Regions from separate parts of the Homo sapiens genome. Here regions 1 and 3 are each linked to region 2. The links are contacts of gene promoters, found by promoter capture Hi-C in blood cells and fetal thymus (Javierre and others, 2016). All regions are on one chromosome and are shown on one strand. Each heading gives the region's core, a stretch centred on a gene start or on the middle of the fragment in contact. The rest is flanking DNA. Distances are from core to core; before and after follow the strand shown.

The links. Contacts are between HindIII fragments. The CHiCAGO score rates a contact against its expected background, and 5 or more counts as called.
Region 1: a fragment that was not itself captured here is called in contact with the fragment with the promoter of SLC10A4 in region 2 in 2 of 17 cell types (endothelial precursors and non-activated CD4 T cells); the score reaches 6.2 in endothelial precursors.
Region 3: a contact is called between the fragment with the promoter of NFXL1 here and the fragment with the promoter of SLC10A4 in region 2, in 4 of 17 cell types (erythroblasts, activated CD4 T cells, fetal thymus and 1 more). The highest score is 10.9, in erythroblasts.

Annotation. Positions count from the first base shown.
Region 1 is chr4:48,994,149-48,996,848 of GRCh38, reverse strand. CWH43 (cell wall biogenesis 43 C-terminal homolog) reads right to left here. Exons shown (of 16, transcript NM_025087.3): 5 at 2,029-2,230. Among named protein-coding and RNA genes, the nearest start is that of CWH43, 9.2 kb to the right of the region's middle. The HindIII fragment of the contact is 2,096 bases long and covers 244-2,339 here.
Region 2 is chr4:48,481,916-48,484,617 of GRCh38, reverse strand. It overlaps SLC10A4 (solute carrier family 10 member 4), which reads right to left and starts at 1,275. Exons shown (of 3, transcript NM_152679.4): 1 at 467-1,275. The coding sequence starts at 1,056. RefSeq lists silencers at 1,096-1,225, 1,306-1,355 and a cis regulatory region at 2,610-2,702. The HindIII fragment of the contact is 5,112 bases long and covers 1-2,002 here.
Region 3 is chr4:47,913,185-47,915,884 of GRCh38, reverse strand. It overlaps NFXL1 (nuclear transcription factor, X-box binding like 1), which reads left to right and starts at 1,302. Exons shown (of 23, transcript NM_001278624.2): 1 at 1,302-1,520; 2 at 1,680-1,916. The coding sequence starts at 1,682. LOC101927157 (a long non-coding RNA gene) reads right to left here and starts at 1,658. Exons shown (of 3, transcript NR_125879.1): 1 at 1,181-1,658. RefSeq lists enhancers at 1,322-1,551, 1,062-1,747, 1,748-2,434. The HindIII fragment of the contact is 5,032 bases long and covers 1-1,690 here.

The sequences.
Region 1 (2,700 bases), core at 42-2,541, 510 kb before region 2:
TACAGGATTAGGAAATGTCTGAAAAGCAAATGCTGATTTTATATATGTGAGAAAGTTTCCCCCTGAAGTTTAGTTACATTCTTCTTGTGAGTAAAGCAAGGCCAGGGATGTAATATGATTGGCCCAGAGTTGAATGGTGAGTTTCTCCTGGTTACCAGGACTCACCATTTACCATTAAAGTTCTTCCTTTACTCTGCCACAAAACTTATGCTTGTTTTCACAGGTAACTTTGGAAACTAAGCTTTAACACATAGGAATAAACTTCTTCCTTCCTCTCTGGCCTTTTGTTCCTTTCTTTCTTCTCTGCCTTCCTCCCAGATATGGAAGAAGATACAGACTCTAAATGAAATAATATTTTCAAAAGTCCTTGTTCAGGACCTGACACAGAGTAAGTAATCAACATTCATTCCTTTTCCCATTCCCTGCCCTCAAGGGACTTAGTGTCTAGACAGGAAGAAAAACATTTTTTAAAATCTGTAATACAGAATATAAAGTTTCTAACAGATACATATATATATGTGTGTGTGTGTGTGTGTGTGTGTGTGTGTGTACACATATATAACACATATATAAAAATTGATTGACTCAAAGTATTATAGTATGTGGCATAAAGGAGGATCCCCTGTGATAATAACAGAATAATTCACAGAGAAAATGTTTGTGCTGGGTTTTGAAGGGAGTAGGGCTTGCCAGGACATCAAGGCAGAAAAGCAAGCCCAGGCAGAGGGGGGACAGGAACAGTCTGGCACTTCCAGAGAAGCGCAAGTGGGTTCGACTCAGGTGAAGCAGGAGGATAAGATCAGAAAGCATTTGGAAAGGTAAGTAGGGGGGCCAGATCCTGCCTCATATGGGAGAATTGGGGGCCACCAGGTATTGGTGGGGGGGAACTGCTGAGAGGTTATCAGTAAAGGAGTGGTGGAATCAGATTTGCATTTTACAGAGATCATTCTGGAACCATGTGGAGAAGATTCTGCTAAAGAGAGACAATTAGGAGACAACAGTAATAGCCTGAATGAAAAAATGGTGAGGACTCCACTAAGGCAGATGAACTTAGGGATAGAGAAGAAGGGGTTAATCTAAGAGAAGTCATAGAACTGAGTTGGAGAAAATGAGGAAGATGGAGAATTCTGGGCAAACTCTTGGTCTCAGGTTTGGATGATGAGGTGGACAGACAAAATGGACCTGGGAATGGGGGAAGAAGAACATGCGTGGAGGACTGGGAAATACTGAGTTCAGATTTGGACAAGCTGAGGTTGACAAGCCTGTGGGATATGCCCAGATCCCTGCTGGGGAAAGATCCAGTAGGCAGCTGCATGCCTTCAATTGTAAGAATTCAGCACTACAAGAGAGAAAAGATATCGGAGGCAGATCTTTTAAGAATTCCTCCAATTTTTTTGCAAGAAGAGATGGAGCCAGTTACAAGAGAAAAGATGTGTCAGGAAGAGCAGAGAGAGAGTTAAAAAGGACCAAACACAAGGACCAACACTTGACTCCAGACTACTAACTCCCTGTGTGACCCTGTCCCACAGCTGGAACAAGAAAGTACCAGAAGATGCAGGGATCTCCTGGGGCTGCCCTCCTTTGCTGAGAATAGAGATCTGTGCCCCAGGCAGCCAACCTAGTCTCCTCAGGGGACTGTGGTCTTATCCTACTAAATGCCCATAACCATAACCAGAGGGTCTGGAGGAAATGGCCAGGGAATGCTGCTCCTCTCCCACCACTGAGAATGCTCTTCTGTGCAGGCATTCCTCGAGATGCCTATGCTGGAGCTCTGGGAACCTCTTACTTAGCTGTGCACAACCATTGGGCCTCCCACATCTACTTTTCAGCAATCCTTCTGCACAGAGGAAAAGACCCTTCTAGTGCCCTTCTCTCCAGAGCACACAATAATTTCATGCCACATTCTGATATCTAGGGAGAGTGGTATGAAATATCTGGCTAGCACAGACCTAGCTGTCTGACAAAGGAGGCATTGCTTCCTCCAGGCATAACTGCCGATTTTGTGATTGCTTCCAAACCCAAACTCACCCAAATGGGTTAGGATCTGGCCCTGGATGTGGATGCCCACTCACTGCCCATCTGGAAACAAGAGAGACTTCTCCAAAAACCCAGTGGGTGAGGAACACAAGGCTACCAAAAGCAGCCCCTGCCAGCAGCCAGTTGGGTCTAGAGGCCATCCCCGTGGCTACCTCACCAGTCTTCTTTTCTTCAGGTTTACTGCAGTCACCATCTAGAATTTAAAAATACATATATGGAAAAAGTTTAGTTATATGGAAATTTGCGCTCTATATTTAGCAGACTTTTAGCAAGGAAGAAATGGTATTTGGCTTCAAGAAGCTTACTTCGGAAGAGGAGATGAGACATGCAACTACAATATGAAGCTAAACATGCTGACAGCTATTTAGTGGGAGACATAATTCCATGCAGGCCAGATAAGGAATGGTTTAAGGGAGAAAAGGCATTTTGGAATTCAACAGGTGAAAATGCAGAAAATTATTTGCTTCATGTGAAGCTAACGCATTGCAGAAAAAGTGTTTGTGTTTGTGAACAAATGTTGTACAAATTGAGTGGAACATTTCCAGTACACAAGCTGCTTCCTCCCAAAGAACAGGGCTCTCATCTAACCCTCTGTGGGTGCAGAGTAATATTAGTGCATTGACTGGGCAGCCACTGTGCACCAACCCCTCTTCCAAGCCCTGT
Region 2 (2,702 bases), core at 26-2,525:
GCCATGGTAAAGCTGCTGACTGCTACTTGTTGGTCGGACTCAACAATCCTGCACTCTATGTGAGATTACTTTCTCTGACGGGCCAGTAGCCCTATTTTACTTTTACGTTGCCGGCGAGTTCTAGTTCAGACTCCCCCTTCTCTTTGTCTTCCACTGGACAACGACCTGCGCTGCCACCCCGACGCTCGGGGAGGACGGCGAGGGACCCTGCTGAAGGGCCGCGCTGCGCATGGAATCCCAGCCTTGGAGCAGCTCCCTCGCCGTCTAGCTTGCTCCCCTAGCAGCACAACCTGCAGGTCGGCCTTGACTTCTAAAGCCGGGGCGTCATCAACTTCCTCTCCTTTTCTCCTCCTTCCTCCACGCCTAATTCCAACCCCTCCACTGCCTCTGTCCTTCGTCGTGAGCCCACGGCCGTAAACGCGCGTCTGGGATGAGACAGATGCCCAAGGAATAGACAGATCCGTACCTGAGGTTCATGTCGCCGTCAACCAGCAGGGACATAAGATTGGAGAGATTGCCGCCGGGACAGCAGCCACACAGGAGCACCGCCACGGCGGCCACCTCGTCCAGCTTGAAGGCGAGGGCCAGCAGGAAGGCCAGCAGCGGCAGGAGGCCGAACTGGCAGAGCGCTGCCAGCAGCGCGCCCACGGGCCGACGGACGTGCGCCCCGAAGTGGTTCACGTCCACCGTGCAGCCCAGGCCCAGCATGGTGATGCACAGGGCGGCGCCCACGAACACGTTCAGCCCGTGGTTCAGCGGCGTGTCCCAGAACGGGAGCGCGTGGGGCGCCCAGGGCCGAGGGAACGGGGAAGGGCCGTGGCTCGCCGCGCCGCCCGCGAGGCCGCTGGTCGTGGGCTCCGGGGTCGGAGTGGGGCCGGGGCTGAAGCCGAAGCTCGGACCCGGCCCGAGGCTGAGCCCAGGGCCGGGGCCGGCGCTGGAGGCAGGGGCGAGGGCGAGGTCCGTGCCGGGGCCCAGGCTGCTGGCATTGGGCGCCAGGGTGTAGTTGTCCCGCAGCAGAGGGGCGAAGAGCAGGGTCACGTTGTCGTTGCCGTCCATGGCGCGGCCGGAGCTGCGGATTCCGGTCCCCTCCCGCCGCGTGCCTCTCGCCGTCCCGCGGTCGCCGCAGTCGCCGCCCGTCGTTCTGCCCGTCGGTCTCCGAGCCCCGGCTGCGCGCCGCTGACGTGCTCGGCGGCGTCGGGGGCGGCGGGCCGGTCTCCGCTCCCAGGTCTGCAGCCGCCCGCAGCCTGGCACTCCGCGCAGCGCGGCCCCCCGGGTGAACCCAATCGCTGCGCCGGCTCCGCGCCGCGGCCCCGCGCCCCGCAGGCCCCGCCCCGCCCTGCCGCCCGGTCCCCTCCTGTGAATCGCCAGTAAGTGGTTCTGTTATCGAGTGTAGCCAGGGGCGGAACAAAGACCTGACAAAGGACCAGAGCAGGAAAAAACCGTTCCTGGCTGCCGATCAAGTTCTCTGATGGGCTCTGCCTCTTTATAATGAAATCTGGAGACCCAGACACACAAAGTGGAGGGGGCGGGTGGATAACCTCATCGATGCACGCTCATGGCAGAAACTGTTCCTATAGCCTGCAGCCCTAAGAGGGGTGCTTGACTTAATATGAGCGATTCTCTAGTAAGCAGGACACGATATCTGGCTTGAATTTGCAAACAATTTTTTGCATGATTTTCAGTCTTAAAGTAGAATGTAATAATAATATAGCGGGTTTTGTGCAAGTGCGTGTGCATTATTTCATTCGATTCTTACAGCAAAGCCGTGAGATAGATACCATTTTTACAAGCTCGATTTTTACAAACGAGGAAACTGAGGAACGAGGAATTCTCAGTCTTATCAACCGAACCCACAAGTACCTGGCTGAATCTGCACGGCGATGTGTCCCTAAAGAGGGCAGAGAAGAGCTTGGCTAATAACAATTTCCATGAAAAATGTGTGTTTAAGAAGTTATTGGCAGGTGGAGAGAGGATATTTCAGTGGCCACAGATTTACGAAGCTTTATGAGTAAGGCCCTGGCATTAGGATTAAAGGACTGAAAAGAAATAAAGTGCTGAGATTCCCTGCTTGAGACAGGTTTATCCCAAAACAATTCAAAAGCAGAGCTCTTAGGAATGGAGATGCAACAACTTTTAAGTCAGTCACTAGATGGCATGTAGAAAGGAAAATAATTTCGCTGCTTACCAACCAGGTGGGGCCTGTTAAGGAGGCATCTAGCTCCCTGGGGGTGACCATAAAGTGATAGTCAGTTGAGTTGTAAAAACCAACAGGAATTTCTAGAATGAAATCAAGGCTCAGTCTTAGCCCAGGGTTGCTTTCACAAGGAGCCAAGATATAGTGAATTCTTCTATCTGGGAACTTTTCCCTAACTCCTGTCCTGGCACAGAGTGACTTCTATTACCCAAGGGTGGGCTGAGCCTTTCCTCCTCCCCAAATCTCATGAAGATGATGGAGACTATGAAAAGTAAGACTTTGCAAATGCAAAGCATATTGCACTCTTCATCACAAATAATTTATTTTTTCTCTTTTGGACTGTAAATTCCACGAGGGCAGAGCTTTTGCAAGAATCTAGGAGGATAATGTACCCTTACACTTTTCCAAAACACTAAACCCAGAAAAAAAAACTTCAGTGAGCTAAACTTTAAAGGAAGTGGGTTGTGACCAAAAATATTTTAAGTTGACATGTCACCTTATGTAGGTA
Region 3 (2,700 bases), core at 53-2,552, 570 kb after region 2:
AATCCCAGACAGACCCCAGAATGAATTTTTGCAATCTACCTGTCAGTATATATGCACATGTATCTTATTGGAAAACTCAGCAAAATCATAAGATTTAGGTCCTGGCCCTCAACTATTTTCCTTAACAAAATCTACTTTAGGGAGATGCTGTGAAGGTAAAAATTAGCATGTCCCAGGGAAAGCTCATTGCACACTACAAAGGACTATGACAATAACAGGCTTTAGATTTATTTTCTACATTGGCTCTAGCATTTTAGAAGGGTACTTTTACTACTCAAGCCACTTTCCTGCAACTCTCCCCCGAATTTCCCTCCTTCACAGTGGCCAACCTCAAAGCGTTTTCAATGTAAGTGCCTTTCCTGTTAGTGAGACTTCCCTATGAAAATAAATAGTTTAAAGGTTGTTGGAGCCTAAAACTCACTAAGCCTGGAGAGAGATGTGACTGTCATCTGAGTTACACGTGGTTACAACTTCTGTTTCTCAGATTATAGATTAACTTGCTTTCTTATTTTTCTTGTTCTATACAATGGCTAGAGAGAATTAAACGAAGTTAAGGACAAAAACTTCCTGCCTTCTTAATGATCCTTATAGATTAACTTCTGCTTTGTTGCCCCGGTTTGCTTAGACCAGATGACAGAAAATCCTTTATGAAAAATGTTAAATGTACACTTCCCAAAAAGAAACACTGTCTATAATCAAATTGTTGTAACTATTCTCTAACCTTGTATGAGAAAATGCTGTAATCCTGCTAAAAAACCTCTCAGTTTCTGCCTATATAAGTGAAATCTTAAATCTCTACTTCGGAACGCTGACTCCTTCCTTGGAGTCGGTGTTTCTAGGTAGGCTATCCTCAAACTTCGCGCTTTTGATTATTTTACATTGACACCTCCTGTCATCCGCAAGCTCAAAGGCAAGGCTAATAAAAGATGGCAGAGAGCCAATTAGGGACAGAGCCATGTAATCCTCATACCCAGGTGAGTTTAGGGCAGTCTTGCAGAAGCAGAAGCAAATTGTGGGGTCACGAAACCCTCCGGACCCGCCCGCCTCCACCACCACGCGCCCCTATGACCTTCGACCCCTCCCTAGCCCCAGAGCACGCCGGGAGTTGTAGTTCCCAAAGGCCTGTTCGGGCCAGCGCAGGCGCTTGGGGTTTCCCTCCCACCCAACCCCCGCACTTTACCGGATAAGGAAGCGGCCCGTGCTGCCACGCAGTCGCCGGAACGCGGGCGGGGGCTTCTGGGAGTTGTAGTCTGTTGGGGGCGTGCGCAGTCGGTAAGGAGACGTAGCTTTCCGTGGGGTGTACCACTGCAGTTGGTTCCCGGCGGGAGACGCAGGGTCAGTCTGTGACTCTTCCCCTACCACGCTCCCGCAGAGGCTGAGGAGGCGGTTTCGACTTCTCCTCCGGCTTTCTGTCTTCGGCACTGTGTGCTTCTTGCTCCGCGGTTTATTTCTGTACCTAGTCCTCCCTCCCCTCTTCGGTCCATCTCCAAAGCCCGGGCTTGGCGGGGACTCGCCCTCCGGTAAAGGCAGGGCCGCGACCTCCTAAAACCCGGTCGCCGCCCTGCAGGAACCTTCCTCACTCGGCCCCTCACACCGGGTTTCCGCACTGACCCTCCTTCGCCTCGGTCCTCGCTGCGCTCACCTCCTTCCACTCTTTTTTTTTTTTTTCTCCTTTGCAGGGATGGAAGCTTCCTGGCGCCAGGTGGCCGGTGGCCGAGGCCGATCCCGGGGACGGGCCACTGCCGCCCCCTCAGGAAATGGAGTCCATCTCCGCGGCGCCGGAGGAGGGCGAGAGAAGGGGTCGGTGGGCGCAGTTCCTTCTGGCACCAGTCCCGGAGGAGTCGCGACCACGGCGGCTGCAGGGAGCAGGCACAGCCCCGCAGGATCCCAAGCCCTGCAGACTACCGCAGCCAGCGGTGAGAATGGCTCCCGCCCGCGTGCTCACCTGGATGCCTCCTAAGGCAGTTACTAGTCAGGACCGCCTCCGCCCTCGCCTTCTTTCTTTCACTGCTTTTCCCCTCGTTCGGGAGTTTGTTATCGGGCCCACTTCTCCAGCCTTTCGGGTGGCTGCTCTTTTCGGCACTCTAGGTAGATTTCCATCGCACCTCTTTCATCTTAATTTTAGGTGGTATTACCTTTGTTACTTCCCTCCACTCTTGCCTACTTGAATCTCCAGACCATCAGTTGTAAATTGTGGCCCGGTGTTCTGATTTGGTCTATAATGTTGTTTGGTTAACACAGAGTTTTAAATGTGGATTGATTGTCAGCGGTTGTTTGTCGTTTTTAAAAATCTGGTTAACAACCTTGTGGCTTTAGTTATCTTTGTGCATGGCAACAGTCAGCTCGGCTGAGTCACAGAAATCCCATTTAGATTGGACTTGGGCATTCCATCTCACATTCTCTCTCATTTCTGGAGCCAGGTGTCATTTGTCATCTTTACCTTTGCCTTTGTTTCTTGACTTGTCTTATTCCTTGTAAGCACTTGAGCTTTTGATACCTTCCTTGACTGTAGTTCCTATTTACAAATTCCATGTCCTTCTGTGGACATATCTGGTGTTGCCTCCGATATATCAATACTTTTCATCCAAGACCATGTTTTCGTGGAGCCAGGGAGGACTTACACACAATTGTGCATGGGGCCGAGGGAATAATCCCTGAAATCATTTTATTTTTGTGTTTGGAATGCATTTCAGGATACAT